Regions from separate parts of the Homo sapiens genome. Here region 2 is linked to region 1. Evidence: promoter capture Hi-C in human tissues and cell types (Jung and others, 2019). All regions are on one chromosome and are shown on one strand. The core of a region is centred on a gene start or on the middle of the fragment in contact, and the rest is flanking DNA. Distances in the headings are between cores, read along the strand shown. Region 1 holds the start of ME3 (malic enzyme 3). Region 2 overlaps ME3 (malic enzyme 3).

Region 1 (3,131 bases), core at 317-2,816:
AAACACACATGATCTCTGCCCCCCAAAGATGTTGACTGGTGGGAAGAAGTGCCAATATAAAAATAGTGTTGAAAGGATTTAGTTAATACTATTGGTTGCACACAATCACACATCTGACACAAACTGGTTTAAGGCAGAAAAAAAGATCATTTATAAGCTTATGTAAATATGCAGTCCAAGAGTAAACCTGACTTCAGGGATGTAAACCCTACTGGATGAGAATCTTCATGGATGGGGCCTGGAAAGCTGTATTTTTGCCCCATCCTTATTTCCTACCAGGTAATTGTAATTCTGTTTTGGAAATAACTATTTTACGTAGATCATTCAAGTTGAAAATTAGATATTACACAGGGAGGAGAGAGACTGCAGGAGGAGACGATTATTCCTGAAGGGATGAGGGAATCCTGAACTCAGGCAGGAGCACCCCTTAGCACATTATGGGCCATGATGTCTGCTTGGTACTTACAACGGGGCTAATGCTGGCACCGGGAGCTTTGAAGGGGTGTCAGCAGAGGACCGTGCCAACTGTCTGTCAGTAAGTCTAAGGGTTCACGATCCTTATGAAAGTGGCTGCCACTTCCCTTCACCTAACAACTATTTATTGTGCAACTACATACCAGGCAGTGAGCTAGGCAGTGAGGACACACAGGTTCACAGGCAAAGAGCCTCTCTTCATGAAGCTTACATTCTAGACAGGAGATAGTCAGTAAACAATCAGAAAAACAAGCGCGCTACTGACTGTGTTAAGTTCTCTAAAGAGAAAAACCCCTTCACTCTATAGTTCCTAGTGCAGGCTGACATTGAATGGGATAGAGGAAAGGCCTTCGAGTTGACAACTTAGTGGAGAACTGAGAGGTGGGAATGAAGTAGTGGTTTGCAAGGCTGGAGTATGAGCCTTCCAAGGAGAGGCAATAGCAAGTGCAAAGGCCCTGCAGTGGGAGGGAACCAAGTGGGGTGAAGACACAGGAAGGATCAAGTATGGCCAGAGATCAGTGAGAAGGAAAGAGTAGAGTAGGATAAGTCTGAAGAGGCTGGCAAGAGCCAGTTTATGGGAAATCTTGTAGGCCCTGAAAGTTTGGATTTTATTCCACACACAACAAAGTGTTTGCTTTAAAAGGAATCTCCTGACTACTGTGTGGAGAAAGTATAAAATTAAGTTTGGGGCTAGATGGACCCCAAGATCCCTGTCTGGCCCCAATAACCCATGGCAAACTCCATGGGGTCCTCAGAAGTCCTCTTAGTAACTGTGGCTCCTATGTCAATGATGCTTAATAGAAGTATCCGCAAAAACAGAAATGTTCTGTATCTGCATACAAGTGGCTCTTGAACTGGAAATGTGGCTAGCGTGACTGCAGAACTGGATGTTAAATTTTATTCTATATAGACTAATTTATTTACGTTTATATAGCCACACGTGGCGAATGGCTATTATATTGGACAGCACAAGGCAACACTGAGCACCGAATGCCTGAGGATTTCTACTCCAAATCCTGAAGGCACGCCCTTCCCCGAATGTTGGGAGAGTGCGAGGATATGCTGACCCCCAAACGCAAATCCCCCTCTGTGCATTTAGTCTTGCCAAGATGGAGAGTCTCAGGCGGGCATTCTGAGCTGCTTCTTGTCACTGGGGAAAACCACGTGCACGCAGTGCTGAGGCGCCCCACGCGCGTCCTCAGGGGAAGCCAGGCACTGAGAACAAAGGTTGTGGGACCGCTCTTTGAGGAACTCACCAGCTCCGCGAGCTCGCGGCCGCCAGCGCGGTCCACCCATTGGCGGGAGAGGACTCACAGACCGCAGCTCCTCACCCCGCCTGCTCCGCAGCGGGACCGCGTAGACCTCAGCTCCCCGAGCAGCGCAGGTGGGCCAGGGAAGGAGAGGACCGAGGCAAGCCACCACGCGGGATTAGGGGTACGGGGACCCCTCGCCGCGCAGTCGCCTCTTTTTCACAGGGATGGGGGCAGGGGTGGCGCCGGCTGTCACCCGCACCGGATCTGCTTCCAGGGCTTGGTTTCGCTTTGCCTGGCTCTTGGCTAGGCCTGGCGCCCCGCGCGGAGCCGAGCAGGTGGCAGCCGAGGAGTGGCGGGGGCTGGAACATTTAACCCTTTGGGAGCACCTGCCCTCTCCCAGAGGGCGCGTCCCCGGATCAGGCCCGGTGCCCCGCAGCGCGCGTGGGTCCTGGCTGGCTGGAAGGAGGCCCTGACCTTGCTTTCTCTCCCGTGCCAGGTCTGCCAAGGACCATGGGTGCCGCGCTGGGGACAGGCACGCGGCTGGCTCCCTGGCCGGGCCGGGCCTGCGGCGCCCTCCCGCGCTGGACACCCACCGCGCCCGCCCAAGGCTGCCACTCCAAGCCTGGCCCGGCGCGCCCTGTGCCCCTGAAGAAGCGCGGATACGATGTCACCAGGAACCCTCATCTCAACAAGGTAATGGGCCAGAGGGCAGGACGGCCCGCGTTGCGATCCCGTGGCTGCCGGAAAATTGCGCCCCGCCCCCTGGACCCAGAAAGGATCCTCCCGGGCGCCCTTCCAGCGGTTTTTCTGTTTTTGCCTTGCAGGGGCTTGTTGTGACTTGGTTTGGCTTTCTTGTCCCTCCTCTCCCTTTTATGCGTGGAGAGAGGCGACCAGTAATGCAGGGAGCCTAATTTCTTCTGCAGTAACAACACAGACCAGGTTTAGATCCTCGCGGTCAGTCTGACCTGCGGTCAGCTCTCCCCTTGATGCTTACTAATTTTATTGGTCTTGGGCAGTTCATTTAACCTACATGAGCCTAGGTTTCCTTATCTGTAAAAGAGATATAATTGTCTTAGGAATGTCGTGAGATCTAAAGAGAAAATGCGGGTAGAAAATGGGGGTACGTTAGAACAGTGCCTGGTACCCAGTGGGAGAATAAATAAGGTTATGATTATTATTCTGAGAAAAAGATTAATTTGAGAGCAAGGATGGAAAAGTCTAGACTTATAGAAATTTTCGAGCTTGCAGGAGCATTAGAGATCCTAGTTTAAACCTCTTCTTTTACAAAAAACAAGACAAAGGAAACTTGCCCAAGGTCACCAGCTAGTTAGTTCTGGCTCTGCCACTGGAATCCAGATCTCCAATGCTTTGGTCGAGTTCAACCCACCGCTAGCTCTTTTGTAT
Region 2 (3,131 bases), core at 235-2,734, 80 kb after region 1:
TATCTTGTCTGTTTTTTTACTTTGTTTCCTTATTACTGTATCGTCAGTTTATAATGGTATCCAGTACCTAGTCGGTGCTTATTAAATATTTGTTGAATGAAAGAATGAGTCATCAGTCTCTTAAGTACACTTATAGTTCAATCTGAAGAAAAATCAGAAACAAAAAGTTTTGTGCTCATTACAGCATAATTCATAATTGTGGAAGTTTGGAAACAATTATATAAAACAGGAATTACTAGATAAAGCTTGCTGTGTTTTTCTGTTTTTTAATAACATTTTAGGCTGAAGTTTTAGTATGTGGGAAAATGCTAATCATAACATTTTTAGTGGGGAAAAAAGACTAAAAAATTTTATACATAGTATGATCTCAAGTTTGTTTAAATAAAATTTTTTTAAGCATAGAAAAAAGATAGGAAGAAAATAGAACAAAATGATACAGTGGCTATCTCTGGGTGATGAAAATAAGGTGTGGTTATTTTTTTCCAACTTTTCTGTGCGTAATATTACTTTCAAACTTGGGAGAAAATGTATCAGAAAATTCCTATTGAACTTAGGGAGATGGAGGTCGGGCTTGTGATCCAGTTCTGCAACTTACTGGTTGTATGCTGAAGTTCTGGAGCCTTTGTGGGGCTCATATGATATATGTGAAAGTATTGTTTTACGAAATATTAAACATGCAACCCAAGTAGGAAATGATAGCTGTTGCTGTCCTTACTATTCTTGCAGCATGTGACACCTTTCGAGAAAGTATTCAAAGCATCATGAGATCCTTTTATGACAGGTGTTAAAATTCCAACAGGTTAGGAATGACATTGTCACTTCCTGGAGGGGGAGCCTACAGTTTCGTGTTGTACGGTGCCTGGTATGTTGCAGGCAGTAGCTAACTTTTACTATGTGAGTGAAGGAGGGTGGAGGAAATCATGGGTCTTCCACATTCATTTGTCAGGGTAACAGTGAACTATAACCCTGGCATACAGAAATGAGTCATTTTCCTGGCAGTGAGCCAAGGCCACAGTCATCTCCAGGAAGCTTCTTTGTTCTCTTTTCATACCCAGTCATGCTGAAACCTTGTAACCCCATGCAGAGGGGTCTGCATTTCACCAGGTTAATAGATAAGGGAGCTGAGGCCTATGGAAGGTTAAATAACTGGCTCACAGTCACACACTTAGTAACCCATGGAGCCAGGACTCAAATGCAGGTGTGTTTGATGCCTGCGTTCTGTGCTCTCCCCCATCACTGTGCCCCTTTCTGAAGGAGTGACTAGGTGGTATATTCCCCAAATCTTGCTAAGTTTGGGGGTTCCTGGGATATTCCAGACTGAGCTGTTTTAATTTCTTCTGTTGTTGCTAGTCAGAAACAAGGAAAACTTGACATCTCTAAATCTGAGTGGGAATTGGGTAAAATGCTCCTTTGTTGCTGGCTTAAGTAGTAACCCTTAGATAAAGGGTTTAATTTCAGATCTGGAGACTGACCTAGTTGCATCCAGCAATTGTCTATGAAAACCTTGCCTTCTCACTGGTTACAATGAGATTCCCAAACACTGTCTCTATGTTTACCTAATTAAACTCACACTTCTCTCCCCTCAGATGTAGTAATGAAGTCACTGTGGCTAGAGGAACATGGGTTTTGTGAAGTGCTCCTTGACATTTGCTTCCTTGAAGATGGATTCCATTTACATTATTCTTCCAAGTGGTATTTTGTCAACAAAGCTCAATAGTCATTTGAGTTTAAATAGCCTATTTCCCCCCCTCAAGGCCTAAGAAACTGGCTTTGAGCAAGTGGTGAGAGCTGAGTTATTGGGAACTTTGTGAAGCAATTGTCTGGTGCTTTAGAAAAAAAAGCAGCAGCCTGGATGTTATAACCCAGGGACATTCTTGTTCAAGTGATTGAATTCCCAACACACCTGGCCATCATTGTCACAGTGCCCATGTCTGTAATGATTAAGTAGGTTAGTGGAGAAGCTGGACTAGCTGGAACAATTAGAACAAAGAATGTGGTCCCAGTTCTCAGGTGGTGACTTTTTTCTCTTAGACCAGACAGGCTTGGACTTCACGTGAGATTTTCTTCATAGGAAGTGTATTAGTTTGCTCAGGCTCCCATAACAAAACACTGCAGACTAGGTGGCTTAAACAATAGAAATTTATTTTCTCACAGTTCTGGACTCTAGATGTCTGATATGGTTTGGCTGTGTCCCCACCCAAATCTCATCTTGAATTCCCACGTGTTGTGGGAGAGACTCGGTGGGAGGTAATTGAGTCACAGGAGCAGGTCTTTCCCATGCTGTTCTCATGAAAGCAAATAAGTCTCACGAGATCTGATGATTTTAAAAAAGGGGAGTTTCCCCACAGAAACTCTGTTTGCCTGTTGCCATCCACATAAAATGCGACTTGCTCCTCCTTGCCTTTTGCCTTGTGAGGCCTCCCCAGCCATGTGGAACTGTAAGTCCATTAAACCTCTTTATTTTGTAAATTGCCCAGTCTTGGGTATATCTTTATTAGCAGCATGAGAACAGAGTAATACAATCTCCAAGATCAAGATACTGACAGGTTTGGTTTCTCCTGAAACCTCTCTCCTTCGCTTACAGATGGCCACCTTCCTGCTGTGACCTCACATGATCCTTGTCCCTCTGTCTGTGTTGTCTGTGTTCTAATCTCCTCTTGCTATGACACCCATCATATTGGATTTGGGTCCACCCTAACAACCCCATTTTAATGCCACTGCCTTTTTAAATGACTTATCTTTAAATACAATCATATTGTGAGGTACTAGGGGCAAGCACTTCATCTCATGAATTTTGGGAGGACCCAATTCAGCCCATAACAGGGGCCTGTGGAAAATCCAGATAAAGCAGTATTGCTATATTCCAAACTCTAAGGGCTGATGTCAGCAACTCCTCCAACTCCTCCAACTCCTCCAGTGCTTTGGCAGCTAATCTGACCCCTACAAAAGGAAAAATATCTTATTGACCCTTAGGATTCCAGTATAAATGCCAAAGCAGTGCTTAGGAACATAAATGGAAGCAGCTCTAGCCCACTCACTAGGTTTGAAACATCCAGGCTTGCATGTCTTCTGCCTTCCCCCCATCGCCCAACACACAAGAAGGAATAGTATCTTGCTTTCTCTCCCTCTGA

What was found. Contacts are between HindIII fragments. The study calls those that stand out against the background at their distance.
Region 2: a fragment that was not itself captured here is called in contact with the fragment with the promoter of ME3 in region 1 in 2 of the 25 tissues and cell types used here (adrenal gland and neural progenitor cells).

Annotation. Positions count from the first base shown.
Region 1 is chr11:86,671,051-86,674,181 of GRCh38, reverse strand. It overlaps ME3 (malic enzyme 3), which reads left to right and starts at 1,566. Exons shown (of 15, transcript NM_001161586.3): 1 at 1,566-1,858; 2 at 2,224-2,420. The coding sequence starts at 2,238. The HindIII fragment of the contact is 8,709 bases long and covers 420-3,131 here.
Region 2 is chr11:86,590,970-86,594,100 of GRCh38, reverse strand. All of the region lies in intron 2 of ME3 (malic enzyme 3), which reads left to right. Among named protein-coding and RNA genes, the nearest start is that of ME3, 80 kb to the left of the region's middle. The HindIII fragment of the contact is 4,062 bases long and covers 1-3,131 here.